Regions from separate parts of the Homo sapiens genome. Here region 2 is linked to region 1. Evidence: promoter capture Hi-C in human tissues and cell types (Jung and others, 2019). All regions are on one chromosome and are shown on one strand. The core of a region is centred on a gene start or on the middle of the fragment in contact, and the rest is flanking DNA. Distances in the headings are between cores, read along the strand shown. Region 1 holds the start of ACTC1 (actin alpha cardiac muscle 1). Region 2 has its middle 36 kb from the start of GOLGA8B.

What was found. Contacts are between HindIII fragments. The study calls those that stand out against the background at their distance.
Region 2: a fragment that was not itself captured here is called in contact with the fragment with the promoter of ACTC1 in region 1 in 2 of the 25 tissues and cell types used here (IMR-90 fibroblasts and bladder).

What each region holds. Positions count from the first base shown.
Region 1 is chr15:34,792,812-34,798,292 of GRCh38, forward strand. ACTC1 (actin alpha cardiac muscle 1) reads right to left here and starts at 2,738. Exons shown (of 7, transcript NM_005159.5): 1 at 2,695-2,738; 2 at 1,869-2,019; 3 at 434-758. The coding sequence starts at 1,997. The region is part of intron 2 of GJD2-DT (GJD2 divergent transcript); the gene reads left to right. RefSeq lists an enhancer at 3,885-4,356. The HindIII fragment of the contact is 17,333 bases long and covers 1-5,481 here.
Region 2 is chr15:34,616,843-34,622,323 of GRCh38, forward strand. No RefSeq gene overlaps it. Among named protein-coding and RNA genes, the nearest start is that of GOLGA8B, 36 kb to the left of the region's middle. The HindIII fragment of the contact is 5,582 bases long and covers 279-5,481 here.

The DNA of each region.
Region 1 (5,481 bases), core at 1,488-3,987:
TGACCATCTTTCTTGTCAGCCACGAGCACATTATGTAAGCACCCAAGGGTGTTTTTCTTTGCTCCTATTGAACTTACACGTTTCTCTCTCTTTTGACTCAGACCCTGTATGGAATGTATTCTCCTTGGGGATGCTTGCCCAGGTGATGTGATGGTTTAAACACATAACAATGACTGCTGCACTCCAAGCTGCTACACTGCGCTGAGCTTTAAATGAGGGAAGGACCTATCTCCACAAGCTATCAGCTCCAACAATAATTGTGCTCCGAAACTAACCTCAGGGCACTACTGTTAACTCTTTCTCTTAGCACAGACCTTGCTAGGGAATGGGAGGAAAGGGATTATCCCTTTTTCAACTGGGGGATCTGATTCACAGCAAGGTCGGTGACTTGGGAATGTGATTCATCAGTAACTGTCCCCAGAGCCCAGCATACCTGTGGTACGGCCAGAAGCATACAGGGATAGCACTGCCTGGATGGCCACGTACATGGCAGGGACATTGAAGGTCTCAAACATGATCTGAGTCATCTTCTCCCGGTTGGCCTTGGGGTTCAGCGGGGCCTCTGTGAGCAGGGTGGGGTGCTCCTCGGGAGCCACACGGAGCTCATTGTAGAAGGTGTGGTGCCAGATCTTCTCCATGTCGTCCCAGTTGGTGATGATACCATGCTCGATGGGATACTTCAGGGTCAGGATGCCTCTCTTGCTCTGGGCTTCATCACCTACGTAGGAGTCCTTCTGACCCATACCCACCATAACTCCCTATGAGAAGAAAAAATGAGAAAATCATGCTCTCACCATGTCAGGAATATAATCAGTGTCTTGTCCATTTATATCTAACTGCCCAAGTCAAGGAACATATTTAAATACCAGAAATAACAAGCAATACGATTTTACCCCAATTTAGAAGAATTATTTAAAAATCAATCTTCTACCTTCTCCCCACTCCCCCAAAGATGTATAATTCTATTGTTGAGAATATAACTCAGGAGAGAATGAAGCTATTCCACTGAAGAAGCAGAGCCTCACCTCACCTTAAAAATATCATATGCCTTCATTAAGTTATTAAGCTCATCACCCATGTCAACTGGAATATAGATGACTGCATTTTGGAATGACTGAATTAATGACACATTGTATTTCTCCTAAGAAAAAGATTTTGACATTCAAGTGAACACATAATGATGGGCTGATATGCCATCCTCACTCCAACAGTGAAATTCAGCCTGTCCAGAGCTGTTCTGGAGTCATTCACCAGCTCTGAGGACTAAGCTCTCCTGCTTGGCAGCCTGTCTGGCCAGGCATGTGACAAACCCAGAGAGCATGGCATGTCTTTTAACAAACGAGGTGGTATGTCACTATCACCATGGCACTTGCTGCCTCTGTCACGCCTGGCTTCTAAAAATGCAACAGCCAGGAAGGAGATAGATTGATTACACCTTTGGGGAACCCTGTAAACTGGCTGTGAACATGAGAGAGGAATGTGGATTTGGTCCTGGTTGGTTGGGAGAGGTGATATTGTTAGAAGTTTTAAACAGGACTGAAAAGAGAGGACAAGGAAGAAAATGAAGTGTATAAGGCAGAGAAGACACTAAAGACTAAAAGTCCAAAAGGCCATTAGTGGAGAGAAGCAGGTGGCTTTCACACCAGGGAGTGGGACCCTTTTAGAGGCGTGCCACTCAGGTGTACATTCCTCAGTATGTTGGGGTTTTGTGGAGTATTGCTTGCCTTGGCTTGGATTTGAAGTCAATCAGCCTTCTCTTAATTTGGCCTAAAGAGTTCATCGAACAAGAGGGTCAGGTGAGAGCCATTTCCTAGATCGCTGGACTGAAGGGGTCCCGAGTGGGACGGGGGGCTCGGCGGGAAGTTTACCTGGTGCCGCGGGCGGCCCACGATGGACGGGAAGACAGCGCGGGGCGCGTCATCGCCCGCAAAGCCGGCCTTCACCAGCCCAGAGCCGTTGTCGCACACCAGGGCGGTGGTCTCCTCGTCGTCACACATCTTGGCACAGCTTCAGGGGGTTCTGCAGGTTGAGGAGGGGAGGGCGGACCACGCTTAGCTGCCTGTGCAGCTGGCCTTCTCCGCACCCAGAGGACAGGACAGAGCAGAAGGGGGTTGTGGGGACTGGACAGGGGGTTGGGCGGGGAACACTCCTGCCACCTCCCTTCCCCTCGAATCATAAAAGGGAGGGAAGAAGCCGCGGAGGAGACTGGGGACAGAGAAGGGCAGAGGAATCCACCCAGGCTCCCTGGCCAGGAGTTCCAGCTAGGGTGCCAGGTGCAAGGAGGGACCCAAGAAACCCAGCCCCTTAGTCCTCCCCAGCCCTTTAACTTTCTTCCTTTTCACGAACTGGGAACTCGATCTCCAGCCCTGTCCATATCGCCATGCCTGTGCCCCAGATGGAGGGGAAAGCGCACGAGAGTAGGGACCCAAAAGCCCCTTGGGGAGCCACAAAATTCCCCTTCTTAGAGCCCCTGCGAGGTCCTGCGAGGACCAACGCCCAGGACAAAACAAGTTAGAACCAAATCAAAAAGTGTGGGCTTTAAAAAAAAAAAAAAAAAGGCAGTCGCAGAGCGGCAGGAGCTGGGGCCTTGGCTGAATGCGGGCCGGGCTGGCCAGGTGGCGGCGCGGGGCTGGCGTCCGGCGCGGCCCGCGGACCAGGCGAGGAGTGAACGCGGAGGGCCGGGCGCTGACTCACCGTCGGCGGGGCGGGTCGGCTCGGCTCCGGCGGCAGCGGGCTCTGGGTGGCTGGCTCCAGGAGGGCCGCTTTATAGAACGCTGATGGACAGGGTCAGTTGGAGCAGCCGGGGGCAGGGGTGGGGGGCCCGGTCTGCCACCTTGCCTTATTTGGTCCCCTTCGCACCCGCTAGGACTGCCGAGGCCATTCATGGAGCCAAGGGCAGGGGAGAGGATCAGCCAGGGAGCCCCCAGACCATGTAAGGAAGGGGAGGGGGCAGTCAGGGGGATGGCCAAATAGGGAGCTGGGGAGGGGCAGGCGCTGAAGGGTAGGGGGCAGGGGAAGACTAAGTGACGCCAGCCCACCCCTCCCCCTTTCTGGGGTGTGGGTGCTCCCTGGATGGTCTGTGGATTCGGTCCTCCGCAGCCCTGCCAGCCTTGGGGACAATAAGCCACATGCAGTGGGAAGGCTTGGCGCCCTGCCCTCTGCTGAGGGGTCCTGACAGCTGGGCCAGGGCAGCAGGGGAGCAACAGCGGCTTCTCATCTTCCAGGGCTGCCACCAGCACAAAGGACACCGCAGCAGCACATCTGAGTGGCTGCAAAAGGGGCACCCAGGACAGGGCACCCTTCTGGTCTAGTCCCCGCCAGCCTGAATGGCTTTACTCAGAGAGCTGGTGCTGGGCTCATCTAGGTCAGAAAGCTGAGATTAACCAAGGCCACCCGAGTTCCAACCCATGCATGGATCAGGGTCTGGCCAGGGAAGAGTCAGAAAAGGGTTTCTGTGAGAGCTTGGCCAAGTCTTGCTGGAGAAGGGACCAGGTTTACCCCAGCCCAGTTATTGGGTAGCCCTCATCCATGCTGCAGGGTTTTGCTCAAATTCAGACTCTGGTCTTCAGGCCAGAAAAGGATCCCCTGCTGCCAAAGTGAATAAAGGAACAAATGCCAAAAGTAGCTTGCCCACTTGATGGTGGGGAGATGAGCATCTTTAAACTGGGGGCAGAGGCCCTCACTCCAGGTGGAGACAAGACTGCAAAGGCAAATACTTTGATGGAGAACATAGCAACAACTTAAACTATAGGACTACACCAATCCTTGCTACTCAAAGTGCAGCCCATGGACAAGCAGTATTGTCATAACCTGGAAATGAGCTAGAAATGCAATCTCAAGAGCCATCCCAATCCGCTTTTCAGCAAGATCCTCATTTGCTTGGTATGTACATTAAAGTGTGAGAAGCATTGGCATAAATGACAGATATCATCTCCTCTGTGGAAAACAGATTTTGCAGGATCTTGAACTTTTGAGAAGGAAAAAGAAAAATGACATGAAATGAGGAGAGGGAGAAGGAAGAGGGAGATGTAAGAAGGACACAGATCACTAGTTTGCCCTGGGGTGCCCTGCATTCTCAGTTCTTGACTGGAGCTTTGATTTTTAATGCTTGTGTTTTTCCTCCAGTTCACACCAGTTAAAAATAGAAAACTGGGCACTGGCATCTCTCTCTAGAGTGGTCTTGGGCTGATATGCTGAGGAGGCCTGCTGATTAGATACTTGTCCCGACTGGGGAATGCTGGGCCCTCCCCTCTGAACTCCCCAACCATGTTTGGGTTGGTCTGGAGAAGAAACGCGATGGGCAGCTGTGTGGTGGGGTCGGGTAAGAGACCTGGCTGAGATTACTCTGTGCAGCACAGCAGGCATTTTACAGTGAAAATGTTTATTGACAGGATGCCAAGAGTAGAACTGCCTTGTCTCGTGAAAATATAGAAAAACCAAGGAAAAGGAGAAATGGGACTGGTGTCAGAGCCAGACAGAACTGGGCTCAAATGCTGCCTTTATCACTTACTAACTATCTGTTTGGTCTTGAGCAAGACACTTAACCTTCCCAAGCCCCAAGTTTTCCCTCTCAAAAGTGATACCATAACACTTGTTGCAGAAGTTATTGTGTATTGTAATAGTTAGAAACAAATGCTGTAAGTAATATGGAAGATACAAAGCAAATTGTATGTGTAATAATGATACTTTTGGAGGCAGTAGTAGCTCTGCCTTTTAAAGAATCAGGTTGATTTCATTCTTCATTGATTCAGCAAATCTTTGCAGGACAAGAACTGTGCTAGTTAAGGATTCAGTGATAAATAAAACAGAGCAGGACTCATCCTCCGTGGCAATTACAGAAAAGTCAGACAGCTATGGCACAAACTGGGAGGGAAGAAGAGGTATCAGCAGGATAGTCACAAAAAGGGAATGGAGGTCTGAAAGAGTTGCCGAGAAAGCCTTCCCCAGGATGTGTTGTTCGTTTTTAAAAGTAGAGCAGAACTGAAGTTTATGAACATTTGTGTGAGAGAAAGAGTTTCTGCATGGGAGTGGCTGGTGAGAGACTCCCACTATGACTGCTATAGGTGCAAAGACTCTCAGGAATGGAAAACCATGATTATTGACCTTTGTCCTTCGCACAGGCTTCGGGGATCTAGGAGGCCACTTCCAGCCCCCTCATCTCAGGACCATTGGCTCTAGTGGGAGGCCAGTAGAACAGTGCAGGACACAACAGCAGTTTTGTGAAACAATATTCACCCTTAAAATGTTTGAAAAATGTGTTTCCTATTCCGCTCAATTTCATTGCCTAACACTCAAAACAGTGTATTTTCATATGTGTTATGTGTGTAGCAAGAACGAATGCTTATTTCTTAAAAATTTATGATTGTTTGATATTTACTATTTGTATTACCACTCAATTTCCACATTTTATTTATTTTATTTTTATGTATTTGTTTGTTTGCTTCAGACAGGGTCTCCCTCTGTTACCCAGGTATAATCAGG
Region 2 (5,481 bases), core at 1,820-4,319, 180 kb before region 1:
GAGTCTAGTGAAACAAAATATACCAGACGGACTGTGAATAAAGTGGTGGGTAGTACCTGAAAGCTTTGCCTTAGGCTGAATTGGAAAGATCTAAACTTTCATTGAAGAAAATATTTATGAATGCGTTACCTAAGATGAAATTAACTAGCACAGATTCAGACTAACACTTGCAGAAGCCCAGATTGTAAATATAAAAATGTCTCTGTTTTTAAGTTGATTAAATCTTCTTGTTCTATTCCTTAGAACTATTAAGTTGTGCCTCTCTATATTTACCTGCCTGTTTTTTAAAACACATACTTTTTTTTTTTTTTTTGCTTTGAAAGTGTGGAATAAAGGAACACTGCTAGGAAAATGAAAAAGCAGGAAAACTTAAAATATGGTTTTTTAGAAAAATATTTATGAAGCAGTTTAGCATACTAACTGCTTTAGTAAAGTGGTTAGAAGATAGATGATTGCTCATGGTTTCCAAATGGGGAAACAAGGACTCAGAAAGCTTAAATAACTTCCCAAATGTAAATCTTGTAGTGGAATCTACAATAATGTCCAATTTGTCCTCTTCTAATTCCAGTCCAGCATTTTTCTAGTACATATTCATTTTTGTTTGGTATATTCTTCAGTATTCCACAGTTTCCTGCATTGAGTTTTTATTCTGTAGTTACTTCCCTCTCTCAGCATTTTCATCCTATTCACCAGCAGAGAAAGAGGGTAGCTTTCTCGATTTCTGTTAATCTTTATCACCAATCACTTGACTGTAGTAGTAACATAAACCTCAATAGCAGAAATGAAGACAACATTTGAAAACTCAGAAAGCTCTCGCTTTTTCTACCTTCTGACCCAGTTTGCAAGAGTATATTGGTAAAAATATCTTGACATCTTTGGAATGCTGTCAAGAAACACAGAGCCCAAATGAAGTCTATATTCATTGTCTCTCACATACATTTTGCCTGTTAAAAATACATTTTGTGCAGTTTAAACCCAAAGTGTCACAGAAGTACTACATTTCTGTGACTTGAAATTCCAAAGTGAGACATTTCAATCTTCTTTAAGCTGGAAACAATTCTTATACTTGTCACCTCTTGTAGTTTATACAGGTCTCTTTTGATCCTCTTGCAGTTACTTGCTGAATATTGAAAGGGGCCTTTTTGACAAATATAAAACAGGGTTTATGTGTGCATGTTTACTTTTATAATTTTTATTTGTTGCTAGGTCCAAGAAGTCTTTTTCTCCCCTTGGCATTACTTTGATGCACCTGTTATGATCCTGCTGAAAGCTCTCTTGCTTCTTTGGAGCCCTGAGAGGAGCTTTGTAACTTTGACATTTTCACTAGCTTTTGACTAGCTGCTAAGATTTCGGCTGCTGTGGTGCAGTACAGAGGCAGCCATGTATTGGGCTGCCAAGTCTCAAACTCTTGTTTGAGAACCTCCAGACCTCACTAAAGAGGATCTGCAGAACAGAACTGTATTCTTTCACAAGGTGGTTGGTGCCAAGGCCGGGTTGGTCTTTGACAGAGCAGAAGCCAGGATGATCAATATCAGAAGCATCCTCACACATGGTTTTCAGGTCAGAAGCTGGGGTTAGGGATGAATTTTGCCAAGTATTGGATATAATGGGGGATATTTAGAAAAGGTGCCAGGCATTGAACTGATTCAAATTTCTCCCAGTATCTACTGTTTTTGTAAAAGCAAGAAATTTTGCATTGGAAATAACCTAATTAGTTTAGAAAACCAAATAAATAAGAAAATAAGCATAGCATTTTTAAAGGCTTAGCTATTTAAGCATTTAAAATACTTTCTCTCACAAAAGTTAAACCCTGTTCATGTGTACACTGGTTTTGATAAGATAATATTTAGACTGATGTTGGATTATCTTAACTGAAAGTTTTAATATAGCTTTCAGGGATACTTCATGTACTCTTGAAACTATATCACATATATTTGTATTTATATGTATGTCTGTTGATGTTTCTCTCTGTATACGTAGATACATATCCATATCTAGCTAGCTAGCTCCCATTTGCAGGTTTTGTATATTTAGTTCCAACAGCATAGAAGGGGAAAAGGAACCTAAGACCATAATATTCAGTAGTTTTACAAGCAGGATATTAAAATTCATTTGCAAGTTCTTAGTGGAATTCAGTAGCTTTTGATTATATGTATTCTACTGCAACTTTTTTTTTTTTTTTTGAAATGGAGTTTCACTCTTGTCACCCAGGCTGGAGTGCAATGGCGCAATCTCAGCTCACTGATACCTCCGCCTCCCGGGTTCAAGTGATTCTCCTGTTTCAGCCTCCTGAGTAGCTGGGATTACAGGCACCCGCCACCACGCCCGGCTAATTTTCATATTTTTTATAGAGATGGGGTTTCACCATGTTAGCCAGGCTGGTCTTGAACTCCTGACCTCAGGTGATCCGCCCACCTCAGCCTCCCGAAGTGCTGGGATTACCAGCATGAGCCACCGCACCCAGCCACAACTTAATTTTTTAACTGAATGCTGTTATATATGAGGGTAGCAAACACCTGCGGTCAAGTTTCTCTGGGCCATTTGGAATATTTCAAGAACATTATAGACATAACTTGCATTCCAATTGTTTAAAGAACTGTATGAGTCTGAATGTGGAAATTAACCATTGTTTTCAATGCTAATTTTACAAGACCAATAAGCCTGCAATAGAATGACTAGGAAGGCTACTACCTTCATTAAAGAAAGAAGCTGAATGTGGTGGCTCACACCTCTAATCCCAGCATTTTGGGAGGCCAAAGCGGGAGGATCACTTGAAGCCAGGAATTTGAAACTAGCCTGGGCAATGCAGTGAAACTCCATCTCTACAACAAAAATATGAAAAATTAGCCAGTCCTGGTGGTGCACACCTGTAGTCCCAGCTACTCAGGAGTCCTGAACCCAGGAGGTCGAGACTGTAGTGAGCCATGATTGCACCACTGCACTCCAGCCTGGAAGACAAAGTAAAGTCAGAGACCACAGCCAACCAGAGCACGCATTGCTCTTGGTGGATAAGTGAGGCAAAGCAATTTATACTGTTTACTCCTCTATTTTCCTCTCTTTCCTTGAATTCTTCTAACATTTGTATTTTTATAGCATTGTATCCACAAAATAATGATATCGATGGTGTGGTAGTGTGCTGCTCCACAGGCACATAAATCATCTGACTCAAAGAAATGAAAATCTGGACATTATGATTCCTTAGTGAGCATGATGTGATGTATCCTCCCTCCAGCTGCTGTCAATGACACCACCAGGCTCAGCTCCGGCTCCTCCGGTGCCTCCACACCATAAATGAGACTCAGTTTCTCACTTAAGACTAAAACAGTGCTTCTGTCTAGATCTGTGTTTTTCTACCATTTCAGTTTAGTTTCCACGTACATAAAATTCATTTTTTCATGAGTTAGACATATTTTATTTTTCCTAAAAGCAAGTAATTCAAATGAAACCACCTCTTTCTCCACTTCCTTCTTTGTTTGTCTACTTCTTCTTCCTTCCCTCATGCCACTCCTCCCTCCCACTTCCTCTACTTCCCCTGGAACATCATGAAACACTGTGCTTGCTGATATATTGTATTTGGTTATGTTAGGAGAGCAAAGGAGTATAACATATTGTTCCATTCCCTGGGAAGCTTACCTAGCTAGATAATATTACAAAATTTTAAGTGTTCTGATCCTCAGAAAGATGAGAGGGAGAGATCAGTAAGGCCTAGGTTAGCAAGGACAGGCTTCATTTAATAAATATTTAATGATGATTTACTGTGTGTAATTTATTTGCATGTTGACTGCCCTGCCTCCCAACCCCTCACCGTTCTGCTACTGTAAGCTCTTCATGTGCAAGTATTGTGTTTGTTTTTTCCAAAATTGTATACTGTCTACCTGTGATACTCAAGGTGGGCACTGGAAAGTATTGTTGAGTGAATGCATAAAAGAATGGCAATTGGAGAATTCTAGGTTTTGCTTCTTTCTTTCAAGGAGATGGTACTTCCGTAGGGAAGCATCACAGGAAGAATGTGATGGATTTGCTTTCAGGGAGGGAAAGGATGCACTCAGTTGGGGTCACTCATTGCTGTTTCCTATTTTGTCTAGTTTAAGAAAGGATGAATTCACCCAGCATTGAAATCAAGTGAAAGGTAATTTACTACTTAGTCATTTATGTGTTTTTATCCCAGCATCCAGCTGTTTCCTGGATCATATTTTATTACAGTTTTTATTTATAGTATGTCTTTGCAAGAAAAACATCCGGTGCAGCAGGGCTTAGCAGTTGGTGTGTAATAATGTGTATTTTAAAGCTACATAGAAGACACTTTTTGCAAGTTTCCCTAGAACAGTGAGAGTATCAAATCCCCTTCCCCATTTTTAAAGCTGTGAAGGATTTCCCTTGAGATTTATGGCTTTAGTACAATGGAAAGTGGATTAGACTTGAGGTTAGTGATCACATGTCTGAATCTTCACCCTATCACTTCTTAGCAGTGTGGACTTGGTAAATTAATTAACCTGCGTATGGCTCAGTTAAAACTTGCCTCACAAGTGAGAAGGCGTGAGAGTTAAAGGAAAAAAGATGTCAAGTGTCTGTACTAAGAACATGTATTTTTCTTTTTCCATCTCTCCAGTATAAACAATTTTTGTTCTGGAAGTCTATTATTGCAACTTAGGAAGTAATTTAAATTATTTCATCGGTGTTAATTCTGAATTTTAGCTTCATTTTAAACACTTTGTAGGAATGCCCATATCATATACCTAGTCCATTTTATTTTGTGATTTCTCCAAAACACCAAAATGCAATGCCAGCTCTCAACATATTGTTCTGTCTTTCGACAGGGATTAGAACTCTCTTGGATTATAAATGCATGGATTGCACAGAACATTTTCATGGTACATAATGGGAATGAATTGTTCTTCAAACTTATTTTAGTCCAAAAAAGAACAAATGTTACAAAAGAATCAGGATAATAGCTACATTTTTTGGAATCCTTCCTTATAGCATTTATTTTCAGTTCTTTCAGAGAAGCTCATGGAAATGCGCAGTCATGTCTGTAGATGGCATTCTTGTACCGGATGAAATAAAATGGTAATTAAGTATGCGAGATCTTTCCCAGAACAGTCAACCTGTTTAGTGTTAAGTGCATGCTTAACAATCCATGATACCCATTTTTGGAATTAGGAAATAATGCGTGGGAAGTCGAGATGTATTTTTGGGAAAAAAATAGAGATCAAATACAAACTGATGGGTTCTATAATAATTGTGGTTTTTTTTTTTTAAAGTGTCTTAGAGGAGAAAAGTTGAAAAAGGGTCAAGATGAAAGGCTTCACTTTTATTTTCTGGAAGCGTTTAATTAAACCATAGAGGACCACAACTAATAGGACTGTGGACTGGTCAATGTCAGCCCTAAGCCACCCCAAAATAAAATTCTGCAATATCCCCCATTCCTTTAACATACCTTGTGTGATAAAGAACTTTTTATACATTTTTTTTATTTCTTTA